Linked DNA regions of Homo sapiens: regions 2 and 3 are each linked to region 1. Evidence: promoter capture Hi-C in 16 types of primary human blood cells and fetal thymus (Javierre and others, 2016). All regions are on one chromosome and are shown on one strand. The core of a region is centred on a gene start or on the middle of the fragment in contact, and the rest is flanking DNA. Distances in the headings are between cores, read along the strand shown. Region 1 holds the start of MED12L (mediator complex subunit 12L). Region 2 overlaps MINDY4B (MINDY family member 4B). Region 3 has its middle 12 kb from the start of MINDY4B.

Region 1 (4,264 bases), core at 1,012-3,511:
AGATTACAAAGATTTCCCAGGGTAAGGAGCCAAATGCCCATGGGAAATCCATGCAGTAAAATAATGATTCCTAGGGGAAGCTTCTAAGCATATTAAAGTTTTCAATATTTATTTATTTTGTGTTGAGAGGGTCAAGGAATTCATGCCAGACTGTTTCAGGAGAGGGAGTTAAGAAGGGACAACAACAGGGAGAGGGCTATTATTTTCCCTTCTTCCCAAACACCAGGGGCACACTACTGACACATTTTGATTTTAAGATAAAATTCTTATGGGCAGATAAGATTTTAAGTGCTTCAAAGTGTTTCAGTTGGAGGCGCTTGCTTAGGCATCCCAAGGGAAGAACTGAGATTACATTTCTCCCCCAAACTAGGGGTGTTTGATTCAGTAGCAGCGCAGGCTGTTATTCCCAAAGTACCACTAATGATGCAATCATCAGTCCATCCACACATCGCCTACCTATCATCCATTCCATAAGCCAACATTTTTGAATGCTCACCATGTGTCAGGTCCCATACAGTGTTTCTGAGTTGCAACAATGAGTAAAACTGTCCTTACTAGTGTATGTCAGTGAGTTGGGAATGGGGGAGAAAGATGAAACAAAAATAGTAACTTTAATTTTTATAGCTGAGAGATGAATATTTGAGGGCTCCTTATATGATTTCTTCAGCTTTTTGTATGTTTAATAATTTCCCTAATAAAGTTAGATAATAAAAAAAACCCTTTCGGCCGGGCGCGGTGGCTCACGCCTGTAATCCCAGCACTTTGGGAGGCCGAGGTGGGCGGATTGCGAGGTCAGGAGATCGAGACCATCCTAGCTAACACTGTGAAACCCCGTCTCTACTAAAAAAAAGAAATACAAAAAAAATTAGCCGGGCGTGGTGGCGGGCGCCTGTAGCCCCAGCTACGCGGGAGGCTGAGGCAGGAGAATGGCGTGAACCCAGGAGGCGGAGCTTGCAGTGAGCCGAGATCTCGCCACTGCACTCCAGCCTGGGCGACAGAGCGAGGCTCTGTCTCAAAAAACAACCAACCAACCAAACAAAGAAAACAACAACAACAAAAAACTGTCCTTTCTTTCAAACAAGGGAGCTACATTTGATAGATGCCTGTATCACAAGGGCAAGTCCAGCCATGAAATTAATCCCAGGATATTAGTGGAAGAGAAGACCCTGGGGCAAGATGGGGAAGGTGGTCAGGAAATGCCCTCCAGTGAAGTTAGGTAAATGCTCTCTAGAAGTAATTGTTCAGATTAAGGAAGCCAAAAGCTAAACACCTGACTCAGCCTCAAACTGGGTTTGGAGGTGCTCACAGGTCAGGATCAGGAGTGAGGAACTAGCCTCTACCACATTACCTTCACTTTATTTATCTCCTTCTTCCCCCTTTGCTTAAATGTCAACGAACATCAAAGTTGATGTTCAGATTCAACCAGCATTTCCAGAGCACCTACTATGTATCAAAGGCTTCCGGTTAGAATCTGCCTTTACCACCTTACAGAGAGGGAAGGCCGAGAATGCCTCAAGCCGTGGAGAACGTGAGTCCATCAGGCAAGGACAGGTTAGGAACCCAGTCCCTCCAAGTCCAAGTCAGGGAAAACAGGTCAGAAACTTAGAATCAGTCGTGGGTTCAAATTCCGACTCGTTTCGTGGCTTTCGGCAAGTGAGTGGTCCTCTCTGAGCTGGCTCAATTTCTCCATCCATAAAAAGGGTACAGTAAGACCGTGGAAGGTTGTAAGGACCAGAGATTCTGACTATCAAGATCCTGGCACGTAGCGAAGGCTCCATAAATGGCAGCCATCATTCTTGGCCAAGTGCGGGCGCATTCTCCCGGGCACGCCTCCCGCGGGGTCCCTCAGGACAGGCCGAGCCCGCCTCCGCGGCTCCGGTCTCGCAGAGCTCGCGCCAGGTGGCCCAGCATCTTGGTGCCCGCGCCCCGAAGCGAGGAGCGAGGGCGGGTTGGATGACCAAGGTCTGCCCTGGAGGATCACCCCCCCCGCCCCTTCCACGCTCCCGGCGCAGGTGAGGTTTTCGGCCCAGGCCACGGGGACCGCGACCTCTGGGGAGGTCGAGGCGGAGGGTGCAGCGGGGGGCTTGGAGCAGGGCTCCAGAGGGCGCTCCCTCCCTCGCCCAGGTTCACCCCAGGGCCAGCCTCGGCGCCGGGGCCCGCGGGCTGCGCGCTCTGCGGCTGCGAAAACCCGGAGAGGCGGATTGGAGCGCGCTCACCGCGCTCTCAGCCAACTCCTCCGCGGTCCGGCCGCCGAGCTGGGCATGCTCAGTGCGGACGCCGCGCCGCCGTCCGCCAACTCGGAAGCTCGCGCTCCCGGGCCGTGGGGGCGAGAACGCCGGCGGCGAGCCGGCGTCGCTCGCCGCCCCCAGACAGTGGCAAACTTCGCGGCGTTCCCGGAGCTCGTCCGGGCGAGGCAGATACCGCACAAATAAAATCAAATCCAAGTCCCCCATCCCAACCCGAATGATGGAGGCTGCGGCGGCCGGAGTGACCCCGCCGCCGCCAGCCCCAGCCCGCTAGCCGCGGACCAACAGGTAAAGTGTTGGGGGTTGGGGGCGGAAGGGAAGAGGAGCTGGGGCCGTGGGGAGGCGGCGGGCTGGAGGAGCCCGAGACGCCTGCGGGCTGGCTGCCCCCGTCGGCGCTCACAGCCATCGCTCCTCACCCCCTTCCCCAGCCCCTGGAGGGACTGTAAAGGGTTAAGTCGGCCCCACGCCACCGTGAGCACGGCCCCCTCCAGCCGCCGCGACCGCCAGCAGCGCGCCTCGGCGCCTGCCCGGAGCCGCCGAGGGGACCGTAGCTGCGGATGCGCCACTGGAACCTGGCGGGCGTCTAGGAGGCACCGGCCGCTTCCCACCGGCCGCATCCCTGCGTCTCGCGCCCCCTCCAGACCTGCCTCTGCCTGCACTGGCCCGGTCCGTGTCCAGGTGGCGGGGTCTGCGGGGCGCGTGGCGGCGGGGGAAGGGTCCCTGCCGGGGAAGAGAGGCGGGGGCGGTCCGCTCCACAGCTTCTTCCCGGGAGGGGAGGGCCACCCTCGCCTTGGGCGAGCACTTCAGCCACCAGCCTAGGCGCCAAGAAAAGTTTTTTTTTTTTTTTTTCCAGTGCCCCACCCCCACCCCCATCCTGCGCCCAGCTGGGGTGGGTTTGGGTCCATTGGTGAAAAAAGTCACACGTTCCCATCAGCTGCTCCTCCCCCTGGAGACAAGGTAGGGGGGAGCAGAGGAGGCAGGCGCCGCGGAGGACCCTGGCCGACCTCTAGTCCCTCCGCCGCCGCCACCGGAGCGGTGCGTCCCGGGGCTCGAGCGCAGCCGAGTACCCGCCGAAGGCTGTCCCCATCAGTGCGTGTCTGCTGCCGGGCAGCGGCAGCATCCAACCTGCTTTATTCCTCCTGCCTGCAGCGCCACAGCGAGCGAGCGAGCGAGGAGGGGGAGAGAGGGAGTCTGTCTGCAAAGTGCTGCTCCCTGGTGCTCAGAGGCGGCTGCTCCAGCTCCAACTCTCATTCATTTCGCCGGTTAACATGAGAGATCATGGCCGCCTTCGGGCTTCTCAGCTATGAGCAGAGACCGCTGAAGCGCCCCCGGCTCGGGCCGCCCGACGTCTACCCACAGGACCCCAAGCAGAAGGAGGTAAGGGCGCCGGCGGCCTCCCCGGCAACCGGGGCCGCGCTCTGCAGCACTGACCCGGGGCCAAGTTGGCCCAGCGGGCATCGCCGGCGCTGCGGTGGAAGAGGTCGGGGAGGGGGATTAGAGGCGGGGGCCAGGCTGGGGGTGCTGGGCGACCCCCCGGCGGCGGAGACCGAGCGGCTGTCAGTCCCCGCGCTCCACTGGGGCGCTCGCTTTCCATGTGCCGGTCGCTTTCCCGTTGCCGGGCCTTGCACGGCGCCGCCGGGCGCTTCTCGGGCTTCTTCCCTGCCGAAACCTTGCTCGCTCTCACCCGTTTCTGCCTGCTTTATTTTTCTTCTTGCCGCTTCGGTAAATCGTCGTAAACTTTTTGAAAAATGTTGGAATGCAGTGCATCCTACACTGAGGTCTTGCGTTTTGCTTTTGCTGGCCAGGGACGAAGGTGAGGGGGAAGCTTTTCAAATTTTCCAGTTTGGAATGGAAGTCGTTTTTATCGAAGTGATAAATATTTAGCTCTCTGAATATACCTCTGTAACCCTTCTGCCCTTTAAAAATTAAAATTAAGGAGAAACACTGATTTTCGTCTCTAGAGGCAATGGGCTTAATTGCTAGAGGCTGTTTTGTATACGTAAAAGCAGGCGAGTTAC
Region 2 (3,212 bases), core at 376-2,875, 190 kb before region 1:
AGGCTGCTCTGGAAGACACAGACTTGGTGTGTGCTATGGTCAAAGAGAGCCCTAGACCCAGAACATCCCCAGGACAGGCATTGAAAACTAATGGAAAATGTTTCCCTGACATTGAGATTGCACAGCACAGAAAGACTGCTCCCAACTCAAGGGCAAAGAAGCCCCAGTTCTGCTCCTTACCAACCATGTGAACTTGGACAAATTACTGAACCTCTCTAAGACTTAATTTACTTATCCAGAAATGGGGTAACCCCTGCTTGGTCCACATCCTGGCTATTGTTGAAAGAGAAGCATGGCAAAGGGCTTTGGGAACCATAAGTGCTAAGTAAATGTAGGGTGTTATTACCTTTGTGAAAACACAGCCTGTCTATGCAGGAACATCTTGTGCCGTATGGAAGAAAGTCCCAACACAGATGGAAAAAGACCAGAGACTGGCAGCAATAAGAGAGGAAAAGCTGTGTATAAATGTGGAAGATTAAGACCGTTGAGACTAAGAAGGCTTAGAATTTAAATTCAATTTTAAAAGTTCTGCAAGCCAAACCACACTCTTATTTCTGTTGCCAGTTCCCACCTCCAACTTAGAAGCTTCTCTCTCCAGCTGTCCCTCTGAGGAGGTCTAAAAACAGAGGGGCTGCAGTTCTCTCTGGCCAGGCCCCGTTGGCCAGTGTGACAAAGATGACCCAACTTACTTGTGTAACATTTACTTTCCAATATCAGATATTATTTATAATGAGATTAACCTGACACATAATTACATGTGCTGTTGTGCTGTCTAGTAACTAGAAACAGATGGTAAATGGTCCTCATAAGTGGCTGCCATGATTATTATTAACATAATCAAGCATGGTTTATAGTTTTTCTCTTTGTGCTTTGCTAGTATTCTATATTTGTGAAGAATTCCTTTCTTTCCTGGCACTTTGTTCCATTTGATTGCTATGATGACAGTGATGGTGATCATCATTTAGACACACACATTTTATACACACATTCAAAGATAGAGGCCCTGAATCATTCTTTCCAACAGGGTTAATGTTCTTACCCTGACTGCCTTGTACTTTGTCCCGGGTTTAGAGCTTCCCTGTGACCACCTGCCCACCCCTAACTTGAGGTAGACTAATCCTCTTTAAAGCTCCTTCCCTAAATCTCTTCTTGCCTTATGAATTACTAGACCATCATGGAATCAGAGATTCCAAGATGTTCTAAGAAGACATTTCTATCCTAGACCAACTAACAGAGTAGTAGACTCTTGGTTCTATCATGTTTGCCATCAATTTCTTAGCATCTGGCATAGTGCCTGGTATGTAGTAGGCTCAAAATAGGTATCTGTTGAAGTTTTAAAGTTCTAATTTGGCTCTTTCATTTTACAGTGAAAGGACTAGAGGCCTAGGTCAGCTAAATGGCACATGTAAGGTCATGTATATAGTAAATGGCAGTGCCAGGACCCAAATGCAAGCCTTTCAACTTGTACCAGCCAGCGTCCCAGCAGGAAACAGATGGCATTCTCAAGTCAGATAATTAATTTGAGGAACATTTAAGACAGAGACTATTTATAAAGATGTGGGCTCGGTGTGGGGACACCACAATGGCTAATGCAGTGTCCCAGCAACAGTGGGAAGTCATTATGACCCCTAGACCTGAAGGAGCACACAAAGGAATGGTGACTTGAACCAGAAAGGAGAGAGTCCTGGGGAGAGGACTGCCATGAGAGGAGAGGGACTCAGCTAGCCACGAGCAACCTGACTTCACTTCCCTTCCCTCCCTTCAGTTTCCTTTCAGGGCTCCCCATTGCTCAAACTCAACAGGAAGCCAGAGGAGGGGGGCACCCTGCTGATGGAGGTCAGTCTTGCTACAGGTCAGCCTCTCTACTGGGCAGAGGGTAGGTCGGAGAAGAGTGGACCATGCATCTGGAGGGGCACACAAAGGACACCCCTACTCTAGTCTGAGGTGCGCTAGAGGATTATCCAGAGGCACTGAATTCATTAACTCACACCTGTCGAGACCCATCTATGAGCTAGACCTTATGGGGGGACACCCGGCTGTGCTTCCTTCCAAAAAGCACACCCTGCCTATTATCCCATTTCAGAGCTTCATTCATTTGAGTCTCTCCAGAATATTTTGGTCTCTTGGTATTACATTTTTACTATGATTCTTCTGGATGATATTGCAGCTACAGAAATGTGTTCAAGGCTGAGTCCAGAAAAGGGCCTGGGAGTGGGAGAAGGTGGGAAACTGCCACTGGAGAGAAGGAAGGTCATTAGGTGGGGCTGGTGGAATAGCCTGGAGGCGATGCTCACCTTTCCCACGATTTCACCTGAGCCAGCAGCCTTGGCCAGAGTTTGTTCCAACACATATGTTCAAAGATGTCAGGCTGGAGGAAGGAAGAAAGCTGTAGTATTGGAAAGAGGACAGCAAAAGGTGAGAAACAGGAGAGCTAAGGAAAGCAAAGGTGCGTAGGGTGCTTTACCCAACCTCCACTTTCAGAGAAGATTCCCAGCAAAGAGACAGTGTGTGCCAATGTCAGGAAATGCCATGCATCCGTAATCCAAACAGAGAAGAGAAAAGAATAGCAGAATGACAACAAAAGGATTTCTGGAGTGGTATTAGGATTCAATAGCTCTGACAATTTGCCAGGTGGCTGCACTGCTGAAACATCGATTAGAATTGGTCAAGCTTCCAAACTGCCTCCCTAGAACAAGCATATTTAGAATCCCAAGCTTGTCATCCTGAATTCCCAGGATGTGTTTAATTAATGCTACTGCTATTTAAAGGACTCATGATCATCTGGCCCATATAATGGGAATAAATCCAAATTTATTTTTTTTTAAAGAAAAATCAATTATCTCTATTTCTGGGACTTTCTTAACACCCTATCAACTTCATTTCTAAATCTTTTGTCTCCTAGCTTTTTCCAAAGGGAGAACATTACCTTGGCATAGTCATGGGGCGGTCCCCAGTTGCTTCATGTTTGTGTTTGTAGATAAGTGGGAATATTCAGACTCAGAGTTTCTCGCCTCCCCAGTACAGAGAAAGACTAGAAGATTTTGCAAATGTCTGTGAATGCTTTTTCTATTTTTAAAATTTGTGTGTGTGTTTAAAAAATAGTATATTCATGTGGTTCAAAATCCAGAGAGACAAAAAGGTATGTGGTGAAGACTCCCTGCCATCCACGTCTCCCTTGTACCCACTGTTGTGTTTTAGGAAGCCTTCTGGAA
Region 3 (4,264 bases), core at 900-3,399, 170 kb before region 1:
GTTTAAAATATTTAATGTTCATAACCGGTGATTAAAAATTTATACTTTAAAGAAATTTAGTCCATGAAAAAGCTCACGCGAGTGCCAAAAATGTATCATTACAGTCATCATAGCTGGGTTTATAAAATACCTGGGAACAAGTTTCCCTATAAGAAAAAATTTCCTGAAGAGGAACAGTTGTGTCAAAAGTTTCAAGCATTTAAAAATTTTAATTGACTGAATACACATTATTAATTTTATTATCGGTATATAGTCATTTATAATTTTTACATATATAAATAAAGAGCAGATAAATTCTTATTCCCTAATCAATTATATCTACTTTTTTTTTTTTTGAGATGGAGTCTCACTCTGTCGCCCAGGCTGGAGTGCAGTGGTGCGATCTTGGCTCACTGCAACGTCCACCTCCTGGGTTTAAGTGATTCTCCTGCCTCAGCCTCCTGAGTAGCTGGGACTACGGGTGCATGCCACCATGCCCGGCTAATGTTTGTATTTTTAGTAGAGACGGGGTTTCACCGTGTTGGCCAGGATGGTCTCTATCTCTTGACCTCGTGATTCGCCCGCCTTGGCCTCCCAAAGTGCTGGGATTACAGGTGTGAGCCAGCACGCTCGGCCAATTATACCTACTTTTTATTTTGTATTTTTAGCCAGTATATTAATCATGAAAGCATTTAGCAATTATGGGGTGTTTACTATGACACCATGCATGATATATGGCATTTTGTTATTTCTTTACTATGACTGCTATGAAATTATTTCTTAGACTTGAAAGTAAGTCTGGGTTGACAGGATTGGTGTGATGGTTTCTCAATTATGAGGCATCCAGGCTCCTTACATTCTGTGGCCCTGCCATCCTCATACTTGGCTTGCATCTCATGGTCCAATGTGGCTGCTTTGTTTCCTGCCATTAACTCTGCATTCCAGAATGTAGAAAGGGGAAAGGGAGAAAAGACGTGACCTATAAGGGCGTGACACCGAATTCGTACATGTTACTTTTGCTCATATCCCTTAGGCCAGAATCATGTGGCTTCTGGTTGCAAGGGAGGTTGGAAATGTAGCCTTAGGTTGGACAGCCATCCATTCTACTGAGAATACTATTACTGCATAGGAAAGGGAAGATAACTGGTGGGGGGCCATGAATAGCCTCTGCCTTGGATGCCTGACAGATGTGCTTACGTGCGCACTCGAGAAACCTTCCTCTTGATCTGAGCCTATTTCTTGCCTTTCCCTTTCTTCCATCTGTATTCTTGTCCTTCCTCCCCTTCTCCCTGCCTTCTTGTCAACAGCTTGGTTGGGGGGCCCAAGTAAGCATATTCATTCAGTCCTGGTGGTTCTGATATGGATGCCCCCTCACCTATTGCTCATGTATTTCTACTGGTTCAGTCACTTGTCCCCCATATCCACATTCACATAACTGGTTTTGCAGCCCAGGAGATGTGGATAAGTCCTGCCTCCCTTATTTAGTCTACCTGTGACCTTGGGTAAGTTGACTAACCTTTGTAAGCCTCATCTTCCTCCCTCTAAAGAAGGCATCATTGCATCAAAGCAGAGTCCCTGCTTAGCCTACCTTATGTGATCATTGTGAGGATTCAAAGAGAGTCATGGAGACTTGGGGTTTCAAAGGGTGAAGAGCCACATGGCTGAGAAATAGGGCAGGGAGAGTGCTCCAGCGTGCTGTGTACTTTTCCCCAATCTGACCAGCTCCTTTCTCACAGAGGGAGCCCCAGGAATCTGCACAGGACCCCAACCTTGACCACAGCTCATTGGTTCAGGCATGGAATCTTATCCCTAACAAGCTTGATTATTTCTTTTGGGGATATAGCATTTTGACTCAAGGGTCATATAACGATGACAGAGTCCTACTAGTGGCTGAGGTCTGTAGAGAGACCACCGACATACCTGGGGTACTAGAGTCTTCCTTCCTGACACCTGGAGGTCAAAAGTCCTCCTACTCTGAGAAATACCTTATTCCTTCAGTACATTCATTTCTTTGCTTAAATTTGTTAAGAGTAATTTCTCTTTCTTACAAGAGCCTTAAGTAAGCAATTTTATTATTGGCAAAATTGACAAAGTTTAATATTTGGTGCTTTAGTCTTATAAATCTGTGCCCTTTTCACCCCCTCAGGGTGAAAGGTAAATTGTGGTTTCTTCCTCATTTCCATTCTCTTTCTCCAATCAAAATTAGTCATTCAAAAAGATTCCAACAGCAGTCATTGACACTGTAAAAAAAAAATGAGAATTTGTAGATCTCTACCTCTCCTAGAGTGACTGTGTAGCCTTAATTCCATTACATAATAAAATATATTTTTCCCTGATAAAGAAATTGTATACATTGGGAAAGAGAGGAGGAAGTGGATTTTCTGAAGAAAGTGAAGAGCTTTCAACCCCTCACACCTCTGCTTAACATCGTGTGATGCAGGGGGCTACTTAGTTTGCTTGTGTGCTTGTCCACATAGGGGCATCCTCACAAATGTAAGTAGCCACATCACAATGCAGTATCAAGCAAGCTTAGCTTACACTGGGTTTGAAGGCAGAAGACCTGGCTCCTTGACCCTACTCTACCTCATTCAACTGGCTATTGCTTCTAGCCCTTTGAGGCACCACCCAAGCATTTTGAACTCTTGCATGAAATCTCCGATTGCCTCACTGAACTTTGGGTCCCACTTTTGAGGCTTCACTTCTACCTTCGGTATTCTCACCCCTCATCCACTTGTAACATTTGGGTGGCTTGTCTGTGCATAATAGAAATTTTTTTTTCATTGAACACTCATTAAAAACAGCAAGACAGATTTTATTAGGTTGCTGCAAAAGTAATTGCGGATTTTGGCATTAAATGTAATGGCAAAAAACACAATTACTTTTTCATCAACTTAATATTTGAGCTACTGCAGTAGGAGAGACTTCAATTCAGAACAGAGCTCGACTTCAAATAGAGAGTCTCTTCCTCACTCTTTACGTTTGGTCCATCATCAAATCTCGACTACACGTTTGCATGATACACATTTCTGCATCCATCTACTGTCTGAGTCTGACTCTCATAATCTTTTGGGTGACTTTCTGTAAAATGTTCTCATTGGTTGACTAGGTTCTGTTCCTGTCCCTCGTCGACAGGCCCCAGCATGTTGTTCTGTAATGCAAATCGGACTATGTCATTTCCCTTCGTGAGCTGCTGGATAAACTCCAACATGCAGAAGGCCCCCCTTACCAGGATCTGTGCTTGCATCCTCTGTGCTGCTGCTGCAGAGTTAGCCTCCGTCAGAACACCGAGCACCTCTCCACGGTTGGATAGATTTAAATCAGCATTGCCTGTGCCTTCCTCTGCTCTATCAGCTTGCTAAATCAACACAGTCCTCCCTAGGTGTCAGGATGATACTTCAGCTGAAGACAGTAATTAATTTGACTTAGAATCCAGAGTATTTGCAACTCATGAGGTACTGAAGATATAGCTTTGAACTTCTGAGCAGGGAGCAGATTTGGAAAGCCCTCAAGGTGCCCTACAGAGAAACTTCCAATTTCTCAAGCAAGCCACTTTAAAAATATGATATAAACCTTTTACTGCTTAAAGAAAAAAAGGGAAGTAATGCTAATATAAAAGAAGAGAAAAGGGAGAAAGAAAGCTTGACAATGAGTAGGGCGTAGTGAGGCTTAAAATACTGACTGCTCATCTTCTTGTCTCCTTGGTCTGCATGGTGGAACAATGTACAAAATGGAGTTGCAAATGCCCAACTGGTTATGGTGGGCCCTGGACCCCTCTGCTCACCACAGCACAGCGGAAATAAATGCTCCTACGATGCGCTGCACCATCTGGTGGTTCAGTGCTCCCAAGGAAGTACAGGATTCCTTGGAATCGTTGGCCCTGTAGAGATCCTTTAGGTGGATCCTCTTTCACGTAGTGGATAATCCAACTGTGTATTGAATCCTGACTCCACACAATGTGGGCTGGGGACCCTTCTGGATGCATTGATAAGACATTAATGAGAGCTGATGGGCATGAGGCTTCTCCTTTTTGGTTATAGAAGGAAATGTAGCTAGGTACCTGGAGAGGAGAAAAGAGGGACCTGTGACAAGAGAGAATGCAAGCAGACATGTGGCATCTCAGGCAGAAGCAAGGCGGTTAGGGGCACAGAAGACTGGGAGTGCCACAGCAGTGGGAGGAGCTGTTCTCTACCCTGACCCCACTCTACCCCAGGCCGCAGTGCATTCTAGAACCCTGGGTTGCAGAGCATCCCTCAGTGAACAAATCCTTTGCTTCAGCCAAGCAGTC

What was found. The method cuts DNA at HindIII sites, captures the fragments that hold promoters and counts their contacts. A CHiCAGO score of 5 or more calls a contact.
Region 2: a fragment that was not itself captured here is called in contact with the fragment with the promoter of MED12L in region 1 in 1 of 17 cell types (megakaryocytes); the score reaches 7.7 in megakaryocytes.
Region 3: a contact is called between a fragment that was not itself captured here and the fragment with the promoter of MED12L in region 1, in 2 of 17 cell types (megakaryocytes and endothelial precursors). The highest score is 5.9, in megakaryocytes.

The regions. Positions count from the first base shown.
Region 1 is chr3:151,083,403-151,087,666 of GRCh38, forward strand. It overlaps MED12L (mediator complex subunit 12L), which reads left to right and starts at 2,262. Exons shown (of 45, transcript NM_001393769.1): 1 at 2,262-2,534; 2 at 3,396-3,623. The coding sequence starts at 3,525. RefSeq lists silencers at 1,914-2,283, 2,720-3,014. The HindIII fragment of the contact is 3,991 bases long and covers 79-4,069 here.
Region 2 is chr3:150,897,822-150,901,033 of GRCh38, forward strand. The region is part of intron 3 of MINDY4B (MINDY family member 4B); the gene reads right to left. Among named protein-coding and RNA genes, the nearest start is that of MINDY4B, 6.0 kb to the right of the region's middle. The HindIII fragment of the contact is 2,085 bases long and covers 584-2,668 here.
Region 3 is chr3:150,914,909-150,919,172 of GRCh38, forward strand. No RefSeq gene overlaps it. Among named protein-coding and RNA genes, the nearest start is that of MINDY4B, 12 kb to the left of the region's middle. The HindIII fragment of the contact is 711 bases long and covers 1,795-2,505 here.